Linked DNA regions of Homo sapiens: regions 2, 3, 4, 5, 6 and 7 are each linked to region 1. The links are contacts of gene promoters, found by promoter capture Hi-C in blood cells and fetal thymus (Javierre and others, 2016). All regions are on one chromosome and are shown on one strand. The core of a region is centred on a gene start or on the middle of the fragment in contact, and the rest is flanking DNA. Distances in the headings are between cores, read along the strand shown. Region 1 holds the start of SCAF8 (SR-related CTD associated factor 8). Region 2 has its middle 27 kb from the start of TFB1M. Region 3 has its middle 100 kb from the start of OPRM1. Region 4 has its middle 6.7 kb from the start of TFB1M. Region 5 overlaps IPCEF1 (interaction protein for cytohesin exchange factors 1). Region 6 overlaps TFB1M (transcription factor B1, mitochondrial). Region 7 overlaps TFB1M (transcription factor B1, mitochondrial).

Region 1 (3,597 bases), core at 709-3,208:
AGATTCCCAAATACTGTTTTTCTTTTTAAAGAAATTAAAACAAGATAAAACTATGCAACGGCATTTAAAAGTACTGTCCTATTTGGGCCGTCACAGCAAAAAGCCTCGTATTTTAAGAGGTAAATATTAAAGATACTCTTTAACAATCATAGTATCGAATAAAGTATTGGCACTTTAAGAGTTCATAAAATTTATGCTAATTTAGTTACCAGCATAATTACACTTTTTCTTTTTCTTTTTTTTTTTTTTGTAGACAGAGTCTCACTCTGTCACTGGGCTGGATTGCAGTGGCGCAGATCTCGGCTCACTGCAACCTCCGCTTCCCAGGTTCAAGCGATTCTCCTGCCTCAGCCTCCTAAGTAGCTGGGATTACAGGTGCCTGCCACTACGCCCAGCTAATTTTTTGTATTTTTAGTAGAGACAGGGTTTCACCACGTTGGCCAGGCTGGTCTTGAACTCCTGACCTCGTGATTGGCCCGCCTCGGCCTCCCAAAGTGCTGGGATTACAGGCCTGAGCCACTGTTCCCGGCCATAATTACACTTTCCAAGGCGTACGGGTAGGGATACTAATGCTGACTGTGCAGATGTGTACTTGCTATGTTTGATGTTTACATTAAGGCCTATTGAAGTCGGAGTTTAAAAAGAAATTGAATACATCAAAACCTGTCTTCTTCCAGACTAGTAAATTCAACTACACAGTGAAAATGGAATCTGCTTTTTAAAATCTTGTTTGACACGTGAATGAACCAGCGAGAAATGTTTCCCCCATAATCTTCCATCTCTCGATGCACAGATCTCTCCCTACCATTTGTCTTTATGTCGTGATGGATTAGAAGAGGAGCGAGTAAAAATAAAAGATATTGCAGAATAACCTTTGCCTGCCTACCAACCATCCAATTAGCTCAAGTCCCTAGCTGGCAAATTACCTAGTCAACAATGCCTCAATTATAAACACTACGTGTAACGTGACCACAGATCAACACCCCGTAGGTTCATTTCCCCCACCGCCCCCAATCGGTGTTAGCCTCAGTGAGGACCCGGGAAGGTCTGGAGAGTCATGTCCAGCGTCCACTTAAATCCTCAAAGGCCCAGGAAGGAGGTGGGCGGGCCAGGCCTCGGCGGAACTGACCTCGAGGGACCTGTCGGGAGTCTCCGGGTGAGGGCCCAACCGGGTCTTTCCCTCCGAGCTCGCAGCCATTCCATAGGACGCCGGAGACGCCAGAACCTCCCTCCGCCCCAGGGCGGCCCTCCCCCAACCCTCCTCCCGGACCCGGGGGAGGGGCACCCAGAGGAGAAACACCCCTCCCCCACGGGCACTGCTAGGCCACCGCTCACCCCACCCTTAAAAAACCCGCAGGCCCGCGCCCACCCTCCGGGCCCCGGCCTCGACCAGGGGTGGGGGCGGTGCGGGCAGGAGCAGGGGAACCCGGCTGCCATACCAACCTCGCTATTGAAGGTCTTCACGGCCTCCATGTTGTCGCTGCGGAGGCCCCGAGCCCGGCGGCGGAAGAGGCGGCGGCCACTGCACTGGGTGGGGAGAGCGAGACGCGGGCTGCTGCGTGGCCGCGAGGAGGGGGCGCTGGCGGGAGAGCGGGCCGCTGCGACCTCGGGGCGGAGTGGAAGGGCACGCGCTGGCGGGGAAGGGCTCCCTCAGCGGCAGAGCGGCACCGGCATGGCCGCTAGGGCGGGGGGAGCGCCGTTCTAGGGAACAGAGGCGCTGCCGGGGCGGGTCGGCGGCGGGCGGGGGAGGGGCTGGGCCGCGGCGCCTTCTCTTCTCTGCCCCGCTCCGTTTCGGTCCCCCTCCCTCTAGCCCCTTCCCCTACACTCTCCACTCCCTTCTGCCCCTTCCTCCGACGGGCTCCTGTTTCACCTCCCCGCCGCTCGGGCCGCAGGAACCAGCCCCGCTCGGCGAAGACAGAGGAGGAAGCGCTGGCAGCAGCGGCTGCGGCATCCAATATGGCGGACTCGAGTCGGGCCGCGCAGTTCGGGGATCCGCGGCGCCGGCTAGCGCGCCCCCTGGCGACTGGACCGTGCGAGCCCCGGCGGCCGCGCGGAAACCATCGAGCGCGCTGGGGCCAGAGCGTCGCCGCCCGTAGGCCCGGCTGGGCTCCGCTGCCCTCGCCTTGGCTCCGGGGCCGCCCGCGCCTCGCCCCCTCCCCGCGCCCCGCGGACGCGGGAGTGAGCGCTGCGGCATCCGGGGGAACGCCGCGGCGGGTTTGTACAGCAGGAGGAGGCAACTCCAAAGCGCGGCTCTAATAAGAGCCTAAACGTGCCCAAGAAGCGGCAAGTTGAGGAAATGTGCGCGTTTCCCTTGTTTCCCGGTGGATTGGTCCTTTTGCACAAGCGGCAGGGTTTAGTTGCTTTTCACAACTTTACTGGACAGTGCCCTAAACATCCGCAGCCTTCGCCAAGAAAAAGTTCCTGGTCATCTATTTAGTAACTGAACTCAATTGTTTTAACTGCACAGGGAGGGAACATTAGAAACCAAAGCCTTGGATTCGGGTTGGGGCAGGCGGCGAGGGAAACAGGCATGCAGCAGCTCCTTGCAGGAAATGCCCGCTGCATAGGATCCAGGGACTGGAGTGGCACAATGAGCGCATTTGTCTGCAAGGCGGGAAGGGGACCCTAGAATGCACAACACTTGAATAGGTGAAAAGGGAACCCGTCTGTTTCGGAAGATGAATTGTTCTAAAGGAATTTTGCCCTAGGATACTTGGAGTAAAGGTAAATACAGTATTTCTTAGATGGATTAGGAGATGCTGCTAGTAAAAAGCCTTCTCTCTCGTGCAGCGCAAAATAAGGTACCAATTTAAAAATACTTATCGATGTTAAAAGATAGGGATGTATCGTGGAACCCCGAACACTGCTGTCCTCTTGTTGAAAGTCATTTTTCAACAATCATTCCCAAATTCACTCAAAGGGAGAGAGGAACATAAGGGCAGGATCGTACTTTTGGAGAGTTTTGGAATCAAGGTAGTTCCTAAGAGCTGTGCGCAGAGCCCCGTGAAACTGGGAAAGTAAGGCCCTTCTTGAGGTTTCAGAGCCTTCATTCTACTTCATTGGCAGCTTTAGTATAGGGCCTGGCTACTGAGAAGGTAACAGGGATAACTCACCAAGTGCTTTTATATTTACTTTCAAAATCTCAAATTCTGTCACAGATTTCTCCACCGTCTCCCATCTTCAGGCCTAGCCATGATCTTTTACTGACACTTGCAGTAGCCTCCTAACTGGTCCCTTGCTTGTCTTCCTACAGTTCATTTCCAGACAGTAGCCGAGGGATGTTTTTCTTAGATAAATCAGATCAGGTCACTCCCTTACTTAAATCCCTTAAATACTTTCTCATTGCCCATTTGATACCATCATAACTTCTCACCATGGCCTGAAGGCCCAGCCCAGCCTGCCGCAGCTCACACCACCTTCCCTTGCTCCCTGACTCTCCTCCTGCCACACTGGCCTTTCTGTTACTTGACAAGAAGCAGTGTTTTCATAGGTAGGACAATTGTGTCTCTTCACACAGGGTGCTGTTGCTCTTGTCCTTTCCATAGCTGACTCCTCCTCCTTCAATCTTCCTGAAAGAGGTCCCCTAATCACTCCATC
Region 2 (3,597 bases), core at 600-3,099, 610 kb before region 1:
GAAGTAATGTGACTGCTTAAACTACAGTAAACTCTCAGTTATTTGGGACCTTATTTATCAACTTATTGGTTACCCACCCCAATTTTTTTCCTTTCTTGCTAAGCATATTTGTCTATTTCAATACTAACAGGTACAGGAAAATGCACACTTAGTAAGTTTGCATTTCTTAAATTTCATTAAAACTACCCACAAACGTACACACACCATACATACAGGGTTAGGTAGTCTATGTTTTGTTTCTTATTTATGCTGTTTCTATAATGGGTGCTTTATTGTTTACCATGTGATTAAAATTCTATTCATATATCTTTTTCCTTTTTTATCATTTAGAAGTCCAGCATGAATAGTGGGGAAAAAAAATGTAGTAGTAGTATGGTTCTATTTCGTAAAAATCAATTGTATTTTTAAATGAAGTGTTTACTTGAAACAATGAGATTTTTTACTGCTAATGAAACCGTATATATAATAACACCTCTCGAAGCTGAAGATAACTTGTTTCCTGACCTCAACAGTCTAAAAAATATCCAATAACCAAGAAAATGGAATTTGAACTAATACGTCTGCATGAGCCAAAACAGATAATAACAACAACAAATAATGCCATCACCTCATGCAGCCAGGGCAGGCTGTCTTCAAATCCCTTTAAAAGATTTTCATAAACATAATCTCATTTGATCTGCTAAATAGCATTATAGTAGTTTCCCCTTATCCATGGGGGACATGTTCCAGAGCCCCAGTGCGTGCCTGAAACCATAAATAGTATAAAATCCTATATATACTACTTTTTCCATACATACATACAATAAAGTTTAATTTATATATTAGGCACAGTAAGGGATTAACATTATCAAATAATAAAATAGAACAATTACAAAAATATACTACAATAAGTTATGTGGATGTGCTTGCTCTCTTTATCTCTCTCAAAATATCTTATTACACTGTACTCATTGTTCTTCTGATAATTTGAGATGATACATGCCTACATGATACATGAAATGAGGTGAATGAAGTAGGCATTGTGATGCAGCATTAGGCAACTATTTGACTTTCTGATGACCCTTCAGAAGGAAGAGTGTCTGCTTTGGGTGATCCTGGATCATCAAGCCATGACTATGTCAATGGTTGGATGTCAGGAACACATGATGTCAGTGGCTAACTAGGTAGGTAGTGTAATGGGCAGGTGGATACACAGGACAAAGGGATGATTAAGGACCTGGGTGGGACAGAGCAGGATGGCATGAGAGTTCATTGTGCTTCTCAAAATAGCATTTGATTTAAAATTTATGACTCGTTTATTTCTGAAATTTTCCATTTAATGTTTTTGTACTGCAGTTGACCATGAGTAACTGAAACCACAGAAAGCAAAACCACAGATAAGGAGGAACTACTGTGTAATTTTTAAAAGGGTTGGCAATCTTATTCCCATTACTCAGATGAAAATTGTAGGGTTACCGTATTTCATCCAAATAATGACAATGACTGGAGCACTATTAATAATTATGCCTGGACAACAAACATAAACTTGAGATGGTCACAGGCAAACCAGAACATACAGTCATCCTAGAAATACTATGTCATAAAGTCATGCTTTTGCTTAGGCAAGCTCCTCAGGCCATCTCTAAGAGCTTATTTGCTCCTGCTAATAGGTGATGTACCTCCCCCATGAGGCAAGATGTTATTTGTGGCTAAGGGGAGCAAAGTCAATCTAGAAGGGTAGGGTTGACCTGGGAGTCTAAAACAGATGAATTAGGCTAATGGTACAAATCACAATGACCAGGGCACTTAGTGAACTTGTGGCTAACAACAGATCCCAAAGGGGCCCAGCCTCAGCTCCAGCCCATACTGTTGTAACAAGGAAGAACGTTGCTTTTCAAAGACCTGCTGTGTGATGCATGCCTGAGTCAATGAGACAGGCCCGCCAGTCTCCTTCTCACAACAGATCCCAAGGGGACCCAGTCTCAAATCCAGCCCCTCTAGCTGCAGTCAGGGACCTATATCACCTGTGCAGAGACCTGCTGGGAGGCATACCCATCTGAGCCATCAGGACAGTCTTCTGGACTTACTGGCCAGTATTCCCACTCAGCCCCAGTACCCTCCTTGGGTCCTCACCAGGCTCATCTGAGCCAGAAGGCCACACAAACTTTGGAATCCTCACAAGACCTGGAGTAAGCCTGAGCTTATAGTGTCCTCTAGTGCTGAGACAGCTACAGTGGTCACAGGCTCAGGAAAACCAAGACAGTCTGCTTAAAATCCCTAGAAGGCCCTCTGACAGGGACAGGCACAAACAAGGCCAATTTGTGAAGGCTAAAATGAATACCTAATCCCTCAATGCTCAGACATGGTCACACGTCACAAGCATCAAGAACGTTCAAGGAAATATGACCTCACCAAACAGACAAAATAAGGTGCCAGAAGCTGACCCTGAAAGTGATGGAAATGTGTAATCTCTTGGACAAAGAATTTTAAATAGCTGTTTTAAGGAAGCTCAACAAACTTCAAGAAAACACAGAGAATCAATTCAGAAATTTATCGGAGAAATTTAAGGGAGAGATTGAAATAACTTTTTAAAAATCAAACAAATCCTGGAGGTAAAAAATACAATTAATGAGATTAAAAAATGCAATAGAGAGCATCAACAGCAGAACTGGTCAATTGGAAGAAAGAAATAGTAAGCTCAAAGACAGACTATTTGAAAGTCAGAGGGCTCACGCTTGTAATCCCAGCACTTTTGGAGGCCGAGGTGGGTGGATCACCTGAGATTGGGAGTTTGAGACCAGCCTGACCAACATGGAGAAACCCCATCTCTACTAAAAATATAAAATTAGCTGGGCGTGGTGGCACATGCCTGTAATCCCAACCACTTGGGAGGCTGAGGCAGAAGAATCACTTGAACCCGGGAGGTGGAGGTTGCGGTGAACCAAGATCGCACCATTGCACTCCAGCCTGGGCAACAAAAGTGAAACTGTTTAAAAAAAAAAAAAAATCTTTGCCTAGACATATTGTCATTAGGTTATCCAAAGCTAAGACAAAGGAAAGAATTTTAAGAGCTGTGAGACAGAAGCACCAGGTAGCCTATAAAGGAAAATCTATCAGATTAACAGCAGATTTCTCAGCAGAAACCCTATAAGCTAGAAGGGACTATCTTCAGCCTCCTCAAACAAAACAATTATCAGCCAAGAATTTTGTATCCAAGCAAAACTAAGCATCATATCTGAAGGAAAGATAAAGTCATTTTCAGACAAACAAATGCTGAGAGAATTTGCCATTACCAAGCCAACCACTATAAGAACTGCCAAAAGGAGCTCTAAATCTTGAAACAAATCCTGGAAACACATCAAAACAGAACCTCTTTAAACTATAAATCACACAGGACCTATAAAACAAAAATACAAGTTAAAAAGCAAAAACAAAAACCAAAAAACCAAAGTACCCAAGCAACAAAGAGCATGATGAATGCAATGGTACCTTCAATACTAACATTAAATGTAAATGGCCTAAGAGCTCCACTTAAAAGGTACAGAACTGCAGAATGGATAAGAACTCACCAACCAACTATCTGCTGCCTTCAGGAGACTCACCTAAGTATTCACATAA
Region 3 (3,597 bases), core at 568-3,067, 590 kb after region 1:
TATGCCAGTCTTAGATACAATGGGACAGAGGAGTGAACTCAGAAAAATACCAGGTGTATTAATAGACACATAAGCAGTTTGGCTTACTGTAGAAAGGCAATCAAAAAAATATTAAATTACCTTATATTAAACACATATTATATCTGTGCATTTATGTGCATATATGTATGTCTATGTTAGTGACCTTTTTTTATATATATATTAGAAATGAGACTCTATTAGTCTGGCTGGAATTCCTCTACTCCAGGCAGAGAATGTTCAGGGAGTTCAAAATACTCTCTGATTGGTATGGAACCTGGAAGAATTGTAAGGAAGAACTGGTCCTCCCTTGGGGTTCAGATAGGTCTCAGTTATTTGATGGAATTGGGGGAACCTCAGATGAGGCTGCATTAGAGAATGAGAAGAGTGGCAGAAACCATGGACTGCAAGGCTAAAAGGCCAAGTGTGAGCAGTGGAAGGTATCCGAGCTAGTGGAGGGGAATCCGTGCAAGTCTACCTCAATTCTTGCCTTCTCAGTAGAAAGAATTCGACTGAGGGGCATAAGTCAGAAAAAGAGACTGAGGCAAGTTTCAGAGCAGGAGTAAGGGTTTCTTAAAAAGCTTTAGAGCAGGAATGAAAGAAAGGAAAGTACACTTGGAAGAGGCCCAGGTGGGTGACTTGAAGGACAAGTGCCCCGTTTGACCTTGGATCTAGGATTTTATATTCTGGTCGACTACTGGAGTCTAGTGCCCCTTTCCTTGGATTCTTCCTTCAGGGAGAGCCGCCTGCATGCTCAGTGGCCTATAATCCCAGGGCGACAAGAGTACACAGTGTGTTTACTGGAGTTGTACACATGCTCGCCTGAGGTGTTCTCGCCTTTTCTGGTGGAATGTCCCCAGAAGGTCATACTACCCATTTTGCCTCTTAATGTGCATGGTCGAGCCCAGTCACCCAGTTCCTGAGATCTTATTGGAAGCTGCTGATGACCAATTTCAGGTGTTATTATCTATGGAGAGACTGCCTCTCCCTGGCGCTGGCTGCGACCTATTGTTATTTTAGAGGGGCAGTGTGACAACTGCTTGACCATCACCTGACTTTCCTGGAGGGGTGGGGTGGGGAGTCCTGTCCTGCCCTGCTCATGCCTGATGAGCTACCCACTGTAACACAAGCCCAGCAGAGACGGCCAGAGGTTGGAGGGGACAGATTACAGGTCCAGAGCGTGAGAGTTGGGCTATTTGCATCTTTTCCAACTTTCAAATGCTTGAGCACTCTGGAGAGGAGAAATCAAAGATGATACCAGTACCACAGATCTACTAGCAACCACTTGTGTAAAACTTGGTCATGAGAGGCAGAATGTAAGGCAGGAACTGAGGCTTGTGGATTGGGAGATGTGAAAGGAAAATATCTTGGGCCTTGAAATCACTAAGGTAAAAGGAAAATTCAAGCCGGGAACTGCTTAGGGCAAACCTGCCTCCCAGTGTATTCAGTCATCCTTTTACTCACTGAGATAAATGCATATCTGATGGCCTCCTTTGGAAAGACCAATCGGAAACTCAAAAGAATGCAACAGCTTGTCTTTCACCTAGCTGTGGCCTGGAAGCCCTTTGCCCGCTTCGCGTTGTCCTGCCCTTCTGGACTGAACCAATGTTCATCTTACATATGTTGATTGATGTCTCACGTCTCCCAAAAATGTATAAAACCAAACTGTGCTCTGACCACCTTGGGCACATGTCGTCAGGACCTCCTGAGGCTGTGTCACAGCTGCACATCCTCAACCTCTGCAAGATAAACTTGATACATTAACTGAGACCTGTCTCAAATTTTCGGGCTTCACACAGAGCTCTGCCGACTTCAGACCACAGGGCTGCTGCGAATACCACCAGCCCCACCCCCATCAAGGCCTCCAAGAGGAAATAATTTGGGAGAAAATTAATGGAAAAGACTGGAGTTTTGGCATGACAGACCTAGGGGATAGAGCACTGAGACTTAGGGGTAAGCTAACCGTTAGAATATTTATACTCACCAGCTGGTAAAGACTGGGATAAGCGGGTGATTTATAACATTAACACGCGCTGCCCATGTACTGAGCATCAGGGAAGGTGCTTTGTGTCCATTATCTCTTTTATGTGAGGTAGGTTTTATCTTTCTGATGAATGAGAAAACTAAACCTAGGCTCAGAATAGCTAAATGTATTGCATCCAATAACAGTCAGGGGTGGATCTGATTCTAGTTTGAGAGTGACAAATCTTAACCATGAGACCACCAAGGAGTGAACATTCTGGTTTTGCCTTGGCTCCATGACTGAGGCTCTGATCAAACTGTAAGTCTAGTACTGAAGAGCTGGGGCCATACGTGAGTCATTCATTCAGTCTGGCTTCTACAGCATCTAGTGCTGGCCTCAAATGGACATGTGACAACCAACTCTTGAATGGACTTGATCACATTAAAAACAGCATCTGAGTAGTTAGGAAGTGGCCAATAGGATGCAGTCTGCAGGAAGTTTGCAGAAAGGGTGCCTTCTCCTGCCAGGCCGTCAATAGGGTAGGGAGTGTAGGCAGGGTGCCCTCTGTGGGTTGACCTGTATATCTATGATTCATAATGGCCTCCTTTTGCCCTATCTGGAGCTGCATATGATTCTTGGGAGGTCCATCTCCAAGTAGTGCCTCAAAAATAAGGCCAGGCGGGGCTGCTCACACCTGTAATCCCAGCACTTTGGGAGGTTGAGGCGGGCGGATCACCTGAAGTCAGGAATTTGAGACCAGCCTGGCCAACATGGCGAAACCCTGTCTCAACTAAAAATACAAAAATTAGCTGGTGTGGTGGCACACGCCTGTAATGCCACCTACTCAGGAGGCTGAGGCAGGAGAATCGCTTGAACCTGGGAGATGGAGGTTGCAGTGATCTGAGATCGTGCCACTGCACTCCAGCCTGGGTGACAGAGCGAGACTCTTTCTCAAAAAAAAAAAAAAAATAAAATAACATAAACGGCTAAACTTTCTATTATTTTTAAGGCTGATGATGAAATAAACCATAGGTCAGGGAAGTATGTAAGCTTGAAAGTTGAAGAGTTCTAAAGTCTTACTTCCTCTGGGGAGGATAAAAGCTGTGGTTCTTTTGTTGCGATAATGACAGACTGTCAGTGTCTGTCTGTTTGCCTGACTCCCATTCACTGAATAAATGCTGGTAATTGTTAATTGCTTTGAGAAGAAAACTGAGTCATAGCTTGAGAGTGACTTGCATATCAATGTTTCAGGCCCTCCGTTCTGGTTTTCTCAAGAGGGCGGGGAACTGGAGATGGGATGGTTGCTTCCTCAATTGCTTTTGGCCTAGACTGATTCAAGTGTGATTTTTCTTTTTTGTTCCCCCCAAGAGATAACGTCACCGGGGAATTTAAACTGCGGGCCAGGGGAATGAACGCTTCTTTTTTCTGGTCATCTTGGTCTGCAGATCATGTCTTCCATTTCATATACCGTGGAGAAGATAAGCATTTGATCAAATTTCTAGCAAGCTAGATGTTAGGGGCTGATTTAAGTGGCTGCCTACACTTACCAGGGGCCTTAAGTGTCTTTCACTCTGATTGCTCCTCTGAAAATATATTAACCGACCACTGACTGATGG
Region 4 (3,597 bases), core at 706-3,205, 590 kb before region 1:
TAATTCTGTCCTGAAGATAACTCTCCAGTGTTAAAATTGTCAATGCCTCTAAATAATGAAGCAAAAGAATGAAGAGTTAATATGCAACAGCCAAGCTCAATAAAAATCTGCAGAAGGAAAAATCATCTTTTATGAAAGCTACAGAATAATAAATGAGCAGTAATCTTCCGAGCTTACTTTGTCATATGTTACAACAATAAGGGAACTATATCCTGACGGTTATTTCATTTCAATACCATTAGAACATTTATTTTAATACCATACAATTTGTATGTTGATTATATATAGCTAGATCTATGTCTACTAGATGAGCATGTTCACACAGGAAGAGGGAAGGAGAAGAGAATTAATGAATTTATGAAACAACTTCAGTGTGTTAGGCACTATATTTGGTCCATTACATGCATTGTCTTATGAAGTATAATGAGACATAATACATATTTTGTAATGCTATAAGGCATCTGTTACTATTCTCATGTTACAGTCAAAGCAGCTACATTGGTTTTCTGTCGCTGATGTAACAAATTACCATAGACTTAGTGGCTCAAAACAACACAAGTGTATTATCCTATAGTTCAGTCATTTAGAAGTCTGAAATGGCTCTCACTGAGCTCAAATCAAGATGTCAGCAGGGCTGCCTTCCTTTCTGGAGGCTCTAGGGGAGAATCAAATTCTTTGCCTTTTCCAGCTTCCAGAGGATGCTCAACCTTCTTGCCTCTTGAACCTCTTCCACCTTCTTCCTCCATCTGCAAAGCCAGCAACATCAGGCCAAGTCCTTCACACACTGTCATCTCTCTGGCTCTCTCTTCCAATTCTCTTTTCCACTTTTAAGGACTCGTGATTGCAATGGGCTCACCCGCATAATCCAGGATCATTTCCCTGTCTTAAAGTTAGCTGACTGGCAACCTACACTCCATCTGCAACCTAAATTCCCTTTTGCCATGTAACCTCACATATTCACATTTTCCAGAGATTAGAATGTGAACATCTTTGGGGGCCATTTTTCTGCTTACCACAAAAACTAAGTTCCAAAAAGATTAGGTAGCTTGCCCAAGGTCACATAAGTAAAAGGAGGATGGAGCCTGGATTTTTACCCAAGTTTTCTTAACTCCAGCACCCCTGCTCTATTCAATACAGTTTGCTGTACAGTTTGTGTCTAAAACTGGCAACAATCTCCATGGTTTAGGTCTGGTCAGGAAACATATCTTGGTGCCCCTTGTGTGCCAGGCACCCTGCTAGTGCTGCATACACAAAGATGAATAAAATACGCTGTTTTCTTTGAAGAGCTGAGAGTCTGACAAAGGAGGCCCTGAAATTATATTATATTACAATGCAGTATATGATGATGCAAGTTACTATATTGCAAAATGCAACATGGATTCTGCTGGGTTTATGAATGCAGCACAACAGGACCTCAGAGTGGAAGGGATCAGGACCAGAGTGGACAGCGTGACAAGAAGGTGGTCAATAAATATCAAAAAGTTTCTCACAAGGAGTCACACTTGTGTTGGGCCCAGAAAAATGAATAGGATTTTGCCCCACAAAGCGGATAAAGTTGCAGAGGCATTCTTTTGGAGTAGCAGGTCTCAGGATATACTAAGGAAATAAAGGAAGGTGTGACAGAAATGCAACTAGAAAGGAATTTAGACCCAGATCGTGTCAGACCTTGAGTGGCATAGTAAGAGATCTGAACATTCTCCCTGTAAGTGGAAAAAAAGGAACCAGGAAAAATTTTAAGCTAAAGAGGAGCATGAGGTGGAGAAAGAGATCTGACTTAGAAACATAAACTTCTTGGAAAGGCTACTGTGATGGCTTCATGTTAGGGGTTCTTGGGAAGAAATATAAGACAGTCTACAAAAAGATCTACCTAGGACTTTTAAAAGTTTGAAAACAGCTATAAATTTTGGAGTTGCATATTCTTATAGAAAATAAAATGTAGCCTAACTAATCAGAGGAAGTCATTTTCATTCATTTATTTAGCAAATATGTATTAAATATCCATTGTGTATCAGCATTTTTTCTAGGTGAACAATTGGTTCACTTTAGTGAACAAATAGATACTGCCCTGTTTTCATGGATCCTACATTTTAGTAGGGAAGACAGACATATATACAGAAAAACAAATAAGCAACAAAAATAATAACGAAAATAAAGGGTAGTTGTACCAAAGGGGGCAAACAAGACTGAGATGAAGAGTCACAGAACAGGTAGTGAGACCCTTGAGTAGAAACAGGACTGACTGATACTTAGTCTGAATGTACCAGAATGGCCATATTATACTTGTTACAATACTGAATTAGGACACAGCCACAACTGCCAAAAATAGATACTCCCAGGCTCCCCAAAATACCCACCACTGGTGCCTGAGCCACACTGGATTCTCCCTTAAGACTTCCTAGAAGTCCTCATAAACCACCAACCAAAGAGTTAATGCTTGGCCTGAGGATCTAGATCTAACTCCAGCTCTGTGACCTCTGGCATTTTTTCTGATTGTTAGACATTGACTGTCACCTTTTGGTAGGTCAGTTAGCAAAGACATTGATAGAGAAAAAGAGGAGCAGTTCTGTACTCTGAACCTGAACCTGTTCTACCAAGATGGAACCTTTGGAGGAAATGTGTTGATGTGACACTTAAGACTATGGTAAAAAAAAAATAATAATAAAAAAATTGAAGGAAGCAATAGAAGAGCAAACTCTTAAGGAGAGCTTGTCAAAGGTCAAATTAGGTTCTTCCCTTGTTAGAATTTGTCAAGAAAAGCTCTAGCTGAAGAGGTCACCTTGAAGTTGAGACAGAGAAAGAAAAGGCGATAGCCAGCTGAAGAGTGGGAGGTGATCATCCCAGGCAGAGAAAAACTGCATATGCAAGAAAAGAGAGGAAGCAAGCACTTGGCATGTTTGAGGAACTGAAAGAGGACCAGCATGGCCACAGCTTATCTCCAGGAAGGTGGATATATATGAGGTTGGACATAGGTTTTTTAGTCCATAGCGAGCGATTAGATTTTTATTTTAAATGCAATGGGAGGCCCCCGAAGGGCTGTATGCAGATAAGTGAAGTGATCCAATTTCCACTTTTAAAGATCATTTTGCTGCTGAATATAAATGTATTGTAGAACAAGACTGAAAGCTGTTGCAGGAATGAAAGTGAAAGATGCTGGCAGCAGAACTGGAGAGGTCAAGTGTGAGATCTGTTGTGGAGATAGGATTTTGGGAATCGATGACGGTATGGGATACAGGTGTTGAGGGGATGAAGAGATCATTGATGAATGTGGTGATATTAAATAATAGATTTTCAATGTAGACAAAACAGCCTTATATTGGAAGAACATGCCATTTAGGACTTTCATAGCTAGAGAAGACAATTTGATGCCTGACTTCAAAGCCACAAACAACAGGCTAACACTTATTAGGGGCTAATGAAGCTGTTGACTTTAAGTTGAAACCAATGCTTATTTATCTTATTAAAAATTCTAGGGCAAGTAAGAATTATGCTAAATCTACTCTACTTGTGCTCTAGAAATGAAACAACAAAACCTGGATGACTGTACATCTGTTTATAGCATGGTTACTGAATATTTTAAGTCATTGTTGAGACCTACTG
Region 5 (3,597 bases), core at 467-2,966, 570 kb after region 1:
GATATCCAACCTTAGGATTATGGTCATGGGATGGAGAAAACAGGCATAGATTTGAGATACAATTGTCAGGGCTGAATATTTGTTTTTAATATGGAGGATGAACATCTTATTTATACTCCATTCCTTGTCTATAGAAAACTCTAACCTGAGCTAGACATTTCAGAAATGTGTGCCATTGGTTACAGAGGAGGCAGAATGGAATAGCACCAATAGGTTGTTTATTAGCATTATTGGAATACATACTGTTTTGATGGAAGGTTAGTAGCCTCTTCTTTGACTGAAAAGATAATCTGTGTATTTATTCTGTATTAAATAAATGTGATTTATTAAAAATAAAGATAATTTAATAAAATCTTAAAAGACATATTTTATGTTGCCATATGTCCTAGGTAAAGTGTTACGTTCCAATTTTACTTAGTGAAGTTTGGATTGTCAATAAAATGCTAATACCTACAATGGTAAGTTTTAGGAGGCATGATTCCCACACCAAGGTAGAATTGTTACTGTGGTGTGGAATAATGGATTGATCAGGGAAAGGCAACATAGAAGATCTTTGCTATATGTCTAGCTCTTCCACTAACTCTTGGGTAGGATACTTCACTTCTTTGCGGCTAGCGTATGCAAACAAATGTCGTATTTCTTAAGCTTAATGCTGGAATTAGAACATTAACGTGCAAAAATGCTTTGGTAATTTTATGTATATGTGTACTTGTAAAAGAGTTGGTAAAGATGGTTTATGTAAATTAAGACACTCTCAACATACCCCCTTCCCCTTTTTTTCTACTCACACAGTGTAAAGAACATGATCTGGCCATGATTAACCAGTTGCTGGATGACCCGAAGCTGACAGCCAGGAAATACAGAGAGTGGAAAGTCATGAACACCCTGCTGATCCAGGACATCTATCAGCAGCAGCGGGCTTCGCCTGCCCCTGATGACACTGATGACACCCCCCAGGAACTCAAGAAATCACCTTCTTCTCCCTCTGTTGAAAATTCCATTTGAGACAAAGTCAGGGTTTTCTCCTCTTATATTTTATCACAAGCAACTCTTCAAGATGTTGCAAAAGCTTACATTTTTCCTTAAAAGGAAAACTGAAACCCAGTCCTTCAAGCATCAGCTTCCCATCTAAAGATGCACGTTAGATGAAGATAATCACCGAATACACCAGGGCTCCTCATTTCAGTCGTAACGCATCCATTGAGATTGGAATGATTGAGTTCAGTTGAAAGGCGTTTTTTGTGTTCCTACTGGGAGCTCACGGTGATGTGGGGCTCTAGGGGGGATGTGAGAAATGTCTCTTCTGTTCATTGCTCTCCAGAGAATGCTATGGACAAGAATCAAATTTTACCAGGAGTAATTGCCCATGGAAACATTCTGTTTTTCAAAAGAAGAATGTACATATTCCACTTGACTGGGAAGCTGTGTGGCCCAAATCACTGTTTGAGTGGAGGAATGTTTTCTAGAGCAGTGACTGGAAGGACAAACGTGGTGTTGCAGAACAAAAATTCCTTGCCTTTGGTATGGAATGGTGGTGCCTTTTCCATGTGATGAGAAATGCTTCATAGACAGTGGCATGTGGGAGAGCTGAAGGAGGAGGCGTGTTCCATATTCCACTCATTCAAAGGACAGCTTGGTGTTTTCACACTTTATGCAGGTTAGGGGATCTGATTAATGTTTCCTTTCCTTACAACAGCTAGAGAAAACATCTCATCACAATTGGAGACCTCTACTTCCTTTGAGCTTTCCTACTCAATGGTAGGAGATAGGAATATGTTCCGCAAAGAATGTCTACTGCTCTTGTCCTTGGCTGTGATCCCTATACATAGTGTGAATTTATATCCAGGTTTCCCAGGATCAATATTGACAAGACGACTTTGGCATCTGAATTGTTTTAATATCTTTACTCAAAAAAACAAAAAAACAAAAACCCATGGAAGCAACAAAAGAGTTAAACATGAGGGATTTATTTTTGTATGTTTATATGTCACTTGTGTGCTATGTGAATAGCTATGTTTGTTATTTAAATATATTTATAGAAGTTCAAATTACTAGTGTTTAAAAGATGATATACTATTATATATTGTGCTTAGTATATATTTGATGAGTCTATACTTTTTGCTTGAGAAAAATAGAAATACTATTGATTCACTGGTGTTATGATGTTGCACTGTGTCTGAGGAATGCTCAGGAAATCTTGTGGGAAAAAAATGGGGCATGCATTCATAATTTTTCATTTTCTTCCCCACCCCAACCCCCATGAGCTCTTAAATTTAGATTTCTATCTCTTGTAAGTCACTCTTTTAACCAGCAAAGGACTTTCATCTTAGATTATCCTTTCTATTAAATAAACTTTAAGCTTTGTGCCATTTATGCCTGCAAACCTTAGACCAAAGGCAACACAACTAATGTCATCTTTTCATTAAAGACTAATAGAAATTTAGAAATCATTGTGTTAAAGAGAGCTATAGAGAAACAATATGAAAGTCTTCCCTTACTAATCACCATGAATATTTCTCACCATAGGAATAACCACAACCCACCAAGTACCCATGTTGGCCCTGCCTACCCGTAACAAATTGTTCACACAACCTATTTTGTTTTATAGCTTCAAAGTGTGGCTTGACATTCAAATGGAAGGAACCACCTGAATTATATCTGCAAACAAAATGGAAATAGTTGTTGAATAGTTCCCCAAGCTTTACTAAGAAGCCTTAATACTCTGTAAACAAACAAACAAACAAAAAACAACCTTAGCATTAAGAAATAAAAACAAAAAACAAGAAGCAAGTTGTACTGCTAGAAACTTCTCTAAGATAAGAGGCCAGGCCAGTCAGTTTGGCCCAGCAAACATGTGGGTACTTCTCCACCTAGGGAAGCCACTGAAGATGAGTTTGACCTGTGGTGACCTGACAGAGAGAACATTCAGATCCTCAGATTGCACCCTGATGCCCTGGTTTAGGAAAGCAGTGCTTTAACCTTTTGCCCCTGGAAATTACTGATTCTTTCTGTGATTAGCAGATACCAGAAGGGAAATTATTTAGGATTGGCAATGTAAAGAGTATTGAAGGAACAACAAATAACAATAGCAGAAATAACAGTGTGACATAAAGTGCCCTTCCACCTATTTTTCTTTGGTTTGCAACACCAGCCTGTAGACTTCCAGTTTTTCTTAAATTGAAGAGCTCCAGACACTTTTGAGCAGGGTTTGTGAATAGCTTTGAATGCTTTCCTTTGGCTTTTCGTGAAGACATATTTCCCCAGCCTTTCAACTGTAAACTCCTTTAGTACCATTGAAACTTAAGGCAAAAAAGATCCCTGGGATTACTTAGCCAAGGCTTAAATTTATTTTTCAAAGTCAAGAACATTAGCCTAGAAGTTTTTGCTTTGCTAGTTAAAGCTTACTTTGCAGAGCTTCCCAAAGTGAAAGGGAAACTGAACTTCACAATTTTGCACCTGGCTTTCTGGAGCCCCATTGCCTGCTCATTCGTGTTTTTCCCCCTGTAAATTATTTTGCTTTTGACCAGGTTGTGCTAGAAAGTAGGGCTGCTTCTGTGAGTTCTCAGCCTAGGCTGTGGCCACTAAGACGTGGGTGGG
Region 6 (3,597 bases), core at 315-2,814, 570 kb before region 1:
TCAGTGAGCTCTCACGAGATCTGATGGTTTTATAAGGGGCATTTCTCCCTTTTGCTTGGCACTTTTCCTTGCTGCCACCATATGAAGAAGGACGTGTTTACTTCCCCTTCCACCATGACTGTAAGTTTCCTGAGGCCTCCCCAGCCATGCTGAACTGTGAGTCAATTAAACATCTCTCCTTTATAAATTACCCAGTCTCAGGTATGTCTTTATTAGCAGCATGAGAACGGACTAATACAAATCTAATGTCAAATTTAAAAAAGAGAGTGAAAGATTTGATAATGACATTGAAATATCCAACAAACTTAAAATTCCTATAAAAATAATTTTAGATATTTGTAGTATCATTTAAGATACGAGTGGTTATGTGATTTCTGTTTGTTTTTGCTCTGTTCATAAATTTAAAATACTGAGAAAGTCTGAAAACGTACATTTTTAATACAATTCAAGTTATTTTACATACTAAAAAAAAATAAAGCAAGCTAATTGACATTTTGACATCATGCTGTAACCTTCCCTCTAAAAGTCTGAAAAGTCTGCTGTAACATCTTAATTTTTTAATGAATAAATAGCAGTAGTCTTTTATATGTGTTATATATAAGAATACAAATTTTATCTTTCACCTACTATATTTTATACTATAGATTCTTTCCTTCTCATACAGTTTGCTTAACAGTTTTGCCCAGCCCTGTTACAAATATTTATTTCAACAGCATTTGGGCCCTACTATGTGGCAAATCAGGAAGAAGATAATTAACGTAACTACAGTGTTGGCTGCCATGAACCCCTTACATGAGAAGGTGACATAAAATATGCAAAATGGGTATTCAATGTAGTATTTCTTCTTAAGGAATCGATAATTTTGTGTAAGTTCTAAGAATTGCCTAAATTCTTTCCTCATCCAGTAAAATCAACAAAAAGCTGCCTAGCCAAACCACAATTACTTGCCCCCTGCAGAGGAGCTTTCACTAAGACTTTGGTTAGAGAAGAGATTTTTTTTTAAATGGCCACAGAAAGAATGCTTCTACATTTGTGTTTTAACTTGTATTAAAGGCATTGTTTATTACATTGTTTCATGTACCCTTTACAAAGCATAATACCAGGGAAAAAAAAATTATCTCTTGGAGTCTTGGTACAACTACTATTGAAAAGCAAAAATTATATATTTCATTATGTAAATCACGAGAGCTAGCTGTCATGATTGTTAGGATTGTTAGCTCTTGTGTTTTACATATATGCTTCCCCTCTTCATGGTTTGATTTTCGGTTTCTTCTTTTATAGCCTTATGTAATGATGCCTTTTACTCTAAACTGGCATACATCTCATTTTGGAAGAATATAGAATTGAACACTAAAATAAAAATGAAAGAAGAGTTTGAGAGTGTCTGTAAAAATACTCATTTGGCTGTAATCTGGTGCCTGCATTTGTGATTGGCTGTGCCTTTAAGCACATTCTGTGAAAACACCTCCAGGGTTTTGAAGTGTAATGCTCCATTGTTATTCTCGAATGCATATAATAGTGATTTTCCCACCCCCTCCACCATACCCCATGTATCATTATGGTAGTGAAAACATTTCTGCTACTGGTTGGCTAGAAGGTCTTCATGTGTTATTGCCTAATATCATTTGAAGTGTTTAAAAGGGTACTGTCTATAATCATAATATCAATTTAGTCTGTCTAGCACTGTTTCCCCATAATTGCTTTAAGGACTTCACATAAATCTGTTAACATGAGCGTTCATTCCTTCTGCAGTGGGGAGTTGCAAAGTAGATCAAGCTACAAATTGTCAAGAAGGAGGTGTACCTTTTAAAGTGTGGGGAGGATTTGGTTTGTCATTGACTGAGATTGAAAAGTGAATGGGAATCCAAAAGAAATGTAGTTTTAAACCTAGGAAAGGAGCTGGGTATGGTGGCTCACACCTGTAATCCCAGCACTTTGGGAGGCCAAGGCGGGCAGATCACTTGAGGTCAGGTGTTAGAGACCAGCCTGGGCAACATGGTGAAACCTCGTCTCTACTAAAAATACAAAAATTAGCCAGGTGTGGTAGTGCACACCTGTAATCCCAGCTCTTAGGGAAGCTGAGGCAAGAGAATTGCCTGAATCCCAGGAGCAGAGGTTGCAGTGAGCCAAGATTGCACCACTGCACTCCAGCCTGGGCAACAGAGCGAGACTCCATCTCAAAAAACAAACAAAAAACAAAAACAAAAAAGAAAACCCAGGAAAGGAAGGTAAATTTATTTATATTATATTAGCTTTTAGATATACAGTTGTACCTGTCAGGGTGGGAAAAGTTAACACTTCAAATTAAGTTAACGTCAAACAGCCAAATTTACATTGTTCTGTTGTGTTTTAGTCCTAACTACTAATTATTAAATACTTTCTATATATTGACATCATGAGACTTAAGCTATTAGTTCTGCCTCTTTGTTTTTGGCGTGCTAATTTGTTTTAACTTTGTGAACATAATTATAGAAAAAATTTTAGCGTTTTCCATTGATGATAAGTACTGTGATTAAATATGTGGTTTTATACATTAAGAGCATGCCGCATAGAGAGCTGTCTCTTTTTAAATTTTTAGTATATTGAAATCGTTATATTTTCCAAGATTTATTGCCTGGAACTCACCAGATCAAGTTTTACTAACTAGTGGTAATTTAAAATAATCTATAAGTACATTAGTATCAGAGGCATGCAATTATTTTTGCTAAACTACCATGGCTAAACATATCAAACTAGATGATTTCCAGACTTAAAAGTATGTTTAGCCTCTTACCAATAGAGGCGTTTCAGCTATTTATTTCTGGAAGATTATTTGTATAAATCTGCCTGATTGACTTGTGAAGTAAATCTTTGCAAGTTTCTAGACCCTACAAATTTGGGAAGCCAACATCTCCCAGGCTAAAAGAGAAAGTTTCCAGCTTTACAGAGACCTGAATGCCATTTGGTCATTCACTTATTCATGCACTTCTTAAATATGTATTAAACACTCACCATGCATTGCTGTAGCTACAGGGGCTATAAAGGTAGATAGGAAATGGGTCCTGCCCTTAAGGAGCATATGTCCTTGCAGGGGAAATTGAGATACAGTTTGTAAGTGCTGTAAAGAGGCAGACGCACAGTACAGTGTTGACACAAAGGTGGACTAATCCACAAGCCATGTTTCTTGGTCCAGTGTCTCCTCTCTGGCTTCTGTGATCATCTTGTTTATCCTCCCTCTTGGTTGTATGAGTTGGGCAAGGAGAGGTGTTAGGAGAAAAAAAATCAGCTTTAATGGACCTAGAGAATTAGGACCAAGGTAGGCTCAGGGCAAATGTTCCCTTTGAGCCTGTTCACCATCCCTATAAAGTGCTGGGCACATTCTAGAATCTTGGCAACTGAGTTGAAGCCAAGGTTCTCCGAGCTCTGACTTAATGTGGGAAGAGAGTCACTTCTTCCCTTGAAATCTACCTTAGCAGTGATGTTTCTTCTCGTTGATACATTCACTCCTGCCTTTTAAGTAAATTTATAAGCTCAGAGACTTTTTTAATATTTAACTAAGGACTTCAAGAATCAGTTTTGTGTTGGGCATGGGGCACTTAACACAATATGAATTTATAG
Region 7 (3,597 bases), core at 737-3,236, 550 kb before region 1:
CTGCACATTTCTCAAGTTTGGGAAATACTGAGCTATTAGCTAGATCCTCAAAATTCTGTCTTTTTTTTTATGAATTATGGTGATAGGCTTCATAATCTAACATAGTTCGTAAAGAGTGGAAAGGCTTTTTAGTTCTCAACACTATTTTTTTTTTTTTTTTTTTTTTTTTGAGACAGAGTCTCACTCTGCCGCCCAGGCTGGAGTGCAGTGGCACAATCTCGGCTCACTGCAACCTCCACCTTCTGGGTTCAAATGATTCTCCTGCCTCAGCCTTCCGAGTAGCTGGGATTACAGGCGCCCGCCATCATGCCCCGCTAAGTTTTGTATTTTTAGTAGAGACGAGGTTTCACCATGTTGGCCAAGCTGGTCTCGAACTCCTGGCCTCAGGTGATCCATCCGCCTCGGCCTCCCAAAGTGCTGGGATTACAGGCATGAGCCACCACGCCCAGCCAGTTCTCAACACTATTCTCTACTCTGACTTAGTAGAAAAATCATTTAGTTATATTATGAGAGTTGTAACGGGTTCTTTTTAATTGACACTGGTAGAGGCAGTAGACTTCCAAGTAAGCTAGACCTGCTGGAATTCCAGTACTGCTAGTTTTGAGAGCTTGGTCGGGTTAATAGGCTGAGTTTACTACATCCAGATTTGACCAATAATACCACCCTTGAAGGACATTTGTGAGGAATAGAAATAATCAATGCAGAGTGCCTAATATGAGTATCTGGCAGTGAATGCTGCCAGTCAAAGTAGTTGTTATTGTTATGATATAAACAAATATTTATGGACTAAGTTGTAGTATTCTGATATAAAAATAAGGATTATAATTTTTAAGCTATATATAGAATTTATATTTAATTTTTCCTATTTGGAAGTGTGGTATATAGAACAAGTTACCTTCAAACATGGTACACATTTAAAGCATAAATAGTGTCCATTAAATTGTAGATGAATTAATGATATATCCATGACATATAAAGAAAAGATTGGAACTTGAGACATCCACTCTTGACTTTTGAAGAGCGTTTTAGAGGCTTCCAACCCTGCTTGTTCACAGCTATTGAGGCCTTGACCTCTGTGGGAGATAGTCTTGAGTTTGGTGGGTGGATGGGTCCACAGAAGAGACAACTGTTTTTCATGCTTTTGTGTTTTTTGAAATCTGACATTGAGGATGTTATTTCTGCTGTATATTTACCTTGTATTCAAGAATCATTTTGGTATGAGGTCAGAACACTAGTGTTTTCCTACTTAACTAAGACTCTTCTGTCTTTGGTTTGTATTCTCCTCCTAGAATCAGATTGAGATGGGATTTTCATAAAGGTGATGTATTGACAAGGGCCCTCAGGAGAAGGGGCATGAGGGTAGCAGGAAAGGGCAGGGGAAGAGCTAAGTAAACATATTGTTCCTCCTGGAGGAGCTTCAGCCTAGAACCACGGCGGGAGGAGAAGCTGTGTAGCACAAATTGCCCCACGCGTCTGTGTTCCCTTGAGGCAAGGGACCAGCTTATTGGAACCTGTGCCAGCCAGTCTTTGCAGGGAGCAGTGGGGCAGTCACTTCCCAGTAGAGGCAGCTCCATCTCTGGGAGCCATTAGCACCCATCAGTGCCAGCAGCTGGGGGTGGCTGCCCTGGCCCAGTGGAAGGAGCTTGGCCAAGACACAGCATCCTGTCTAGCTTCCTACCAGTAGACAAAGCTGTCAGATTACTTACATGGCCACCTCTCTGCCGCAGTTGCTTGGAAGTTCTAAACTAAGTTTCATGTTTAATTGCTTTAGCATGCTTCAACCAGGAACATTTAATAGCATTTTTTCTCTCTTCTTTTTGTTTGTAACTTTAGTCTTTCATCTTTATCAGTTGTTTTTATACTTATTATACCTGCAATTTTATAAGTTGCCTCAAATTCTTTTTTAAAGCCCTTGAGTCCAAAATAAAAATAAATATAAACCAAAAGCCATTTTTATAATTAAAGTAGTACCAGAGTCATCCTCCTTAAAAATCAGGTAAAATACGTGTTGAATAGAGATAAGAGTATTTGCTATTACAATTTTAATTCAGTACTAGGCATGCTTCCATAAACTGCTCAAGAATAAATGGTAAGTATTCTAAATCCAAGGAGGGAAAAAACAAAATTGCATTTTTGCAGACAGTACTTTTATGTATGTATAAAATGCAATGAAATTAATACAAAAGTAACTGGAGATAATGATAATAATGTGATAGTGTTCTGCAGAATTATAGGCTAGGCTAAAAATCTCAAAAGTCAAGTAAGTTAGTATTTGCTAAAGTCATGTAGCTGACAATATAGTGATGAAAGACATATGAGAAAACATTGTCCACATCCAAAACTGAACTTCTGTCTAACTACCCTAGTGGGCCTGCCCTCCCTGCACCTCTTATTCACTATGCTGACTAATGGCATCATCCACCCAGGTCATCCAAGCCTAAACCTTGGAGGTCATCTTAAGCACCACCTCCCCAGACCTTTACAACTGCTGACCCTCAGAACTAGTCAGTCGTTAACCAGCTTCTGACATTACCTAAATTTCTCCCAAACCCATCCCAATTTTGTACCCAATTCTTCTGACTTAATTTAAGTCTATCATTTTTGTCAGAATTACTAGATGAATTCTTCAGTCATATGTATAGATATACACGTGCTCCACAGGTTAAAAAAAAAAAAAGTATGATATTTTTGGTCTTTTGGGTTTTGTTTTGGTAACTTTTTATCAAAGAAGAATGAATAAGTATATTCGATAAATTAGACTATGATTTCTCAAACTCAGAACTGTTGACATTTGGGGCCAGATAATTCTTTGTTGCCAGAGTCTGTCCTGTGCATTGTAAGATACATAAAGGCATCCCTGGCCTCTTCCTACTAGATTCCAGTAGCACTACCTCAGTTAAGATAACCAAAAAAGTGTCCCAGCATTGCCGAATGTCCCCTGCAGGCTAAACTCACCCCAGGGAGAGCCACTGGATTAGACTAAGAACCATTGAGTAACACTAGTCATATGCTTTCTGTGCACCAACTGCTTTCTGTGTATCATCTCATTTAATCCCCACGAGAACTCTGAGGGTAGATGCCATTCTTAAGCAAACCAAGACCTTAGTTAAGTAATGCATGCTGTGTAACCATGCACCCACACCAGGGCTTGCACCCGGGTAGTTTGACTCCAGAACCTGGTTCCCTCAGGTTGGAACCATCTCCCCACTTACTAGCTGTGTGAACTTGGGCAAGTTAGGGAACTTATGTCACCTCTGTCGCCCTCAGTGTCCTGTAAGATCCTGAGAATAGTGCCTACCTGGTAGAGTTGTTAGGTTTAAGCCAGGACTGGCATGTGTTAGGTTTTAGACCAGGACTGGCATGTGTTAGGAAGCACTTGCCATGACATGTCACTGAGAATGCAGAGCTAAAAATGACACCACACCTCCCAGTCTAGTTGGAGATGCAATCATGTAAACTCATAATTTCATGACTTCTTAAATAGAGCGTTTTTACACAGTACACATTACTTAAGTCTTGGTGTGCTCATGTGAGCTATTGTGAGGATTAAATGAGAGCATTTATTAAATTCATAGTTTGTTAAATAGAGCATTTTCT

The links. The method cuts DNA at HindIII sites, captures the fragments that hold promoters and counts their contacts. A CHiCAGO score of 5 or more calls a contact.
Region 2: a fragment that was not itself captured here is called in contact with the fragment with the promoter of SCAF8 in region 1 in 1 of 17 cell types (neutrophils); the score reaches 7.3 in neutrophils.
Region 3: a fragment that was not itself captured here is called in contact with the fragment with the promoter of SCAF8 in region 1 in 1 of 17 cell types (monocytes); the score reaches 5.9 in monocytes.
Region 4: a fragment that was not itself captured here is called in contact with the fragment with the promoter of SCAF8 in region 1 in 3 of 17 cell types (neutrophils, fetal thymus and naive CD8 T cells); the score reaches 15.0 in neutrophils.
Region 5: a fragment that was not itself captured here is called in contact with the fragment with the promoter of SCAF8 in region 1 in 6 of 17 cell types (naive CD8 T cells, fetal thymus, M1 macrophages and 3 more); the score reaches 7.3 in naive CD8 T cells.
Region 6: a fragment that was not itself captured here is called in contact with the fragment with the promoter of SCAF8 in region 1 in 2 of 17 cell types (neutrophils and activated CD4 T cells); the score reaches 10.0 in neutrophils.
Region 7: a fragment that was not itself captured here is called in contact with the fragment with the promoter of SCAF8 in region 1 in 2 of 17 cell types (neutrophils and naive CD8 T cells); the score reaches 6.5 in neutrophils.

Annotation. Positions count from the first base shown.
Region 1 is chr6:154,731,777-154,735,373 of GRCh38, reverse strand. It overlaps SCAF8 (SR-related CTD associated factor 8), which reads right to left and starts at 1,958. Exons shown (of 20, transcript NM_014892.5): 1 at 1,444-1,958. The coding sequence starts at 1,473. RefSeq lists silencers at 1,186-1,785, 1,936-2,055, 2,086-2,325 and an enhancer at 1,422-1,925. The HindIII fragment of the contact is 14,602 bases long and covers 1-3,597 here.
Region 2 is chr6:155,339,197-155,342,793 of GRCh38, reverse strand. No RefSeq gene overlaps it. Among named protein-coding and RNA genes, the nearest start is that of TFB1M, 27 kb to the right of the region's middle. The HindIII fragment of the contact is 4,422 bases long and covers 1-3,597 here.
Region 3 is chr6:154,139,686-154,143,282 of GRCh38, reverse strand. It overlaps a transcript of OPRM1 not described here. Among named protein-coding and RNA genes, the nearest start is that of OPRM1, 100 kb to the right of the region's middle. The HindIII fragment of the contact is 2,432 bases long and covers 602-3,033 here.
Region 4 is chr6:155,319,368-155,322,964 of GRCh38, reverse strand. No RefSeq gene overlaps it. Among named protein-coding and RNA genes, the nearest start is that of TFB1M, 6.7 kb to the right of the region's middle. The HindIII fragment of the contact is 7,367 bases long and covers 1-3,597 here.
Region 5 is chr6:154,157,236-154,160,832 of GRCh38, reverse strand. It overlaps IPCEF1 (interaction protein for cytohesin exchange factors 1), which reads left to right. Exons shown (of 12, transcript NM_001130700.2): 12 at 793-3,597. The coding sequence ends at 1,005. It also overlaps a transcript of OPRM1 not described here. Among named protein-coding and RNA genes, the nearest start is that of OPRM1, 120 kb to the right of the region's middle. The HindIII fragment of the contact is 1,290 bases long and covers 1,072-2,361 here.
Region 6 is chr6:155,299,405-155,303,001 of GRCh38, reverse strand. All of the region lies in intron 2 of TFB1M (transcription factor B1, mitochondrial), which reads left to right. Among named protein-coding and RNA genes, the nearest start is that of TFB1M, 13 kb to the left of the region's middle. The HindIII fragment of the contact is 4,922 bases long and covers 1-3,597 here.
Region 7 is chr6:155,278,294-155,281,890 of GRCh38, reverse strand. All of the region lies in intron 5 of TFB1M (transcription factor B1, mitochondrial), which reads left to right. Among named protein-coding and RNA genes, the nearest start is that of CLDN20, 16 kb to the right of the region's middle. The HindIII fragment of the contact is 4,898 bases long and covers 1-3,597 here.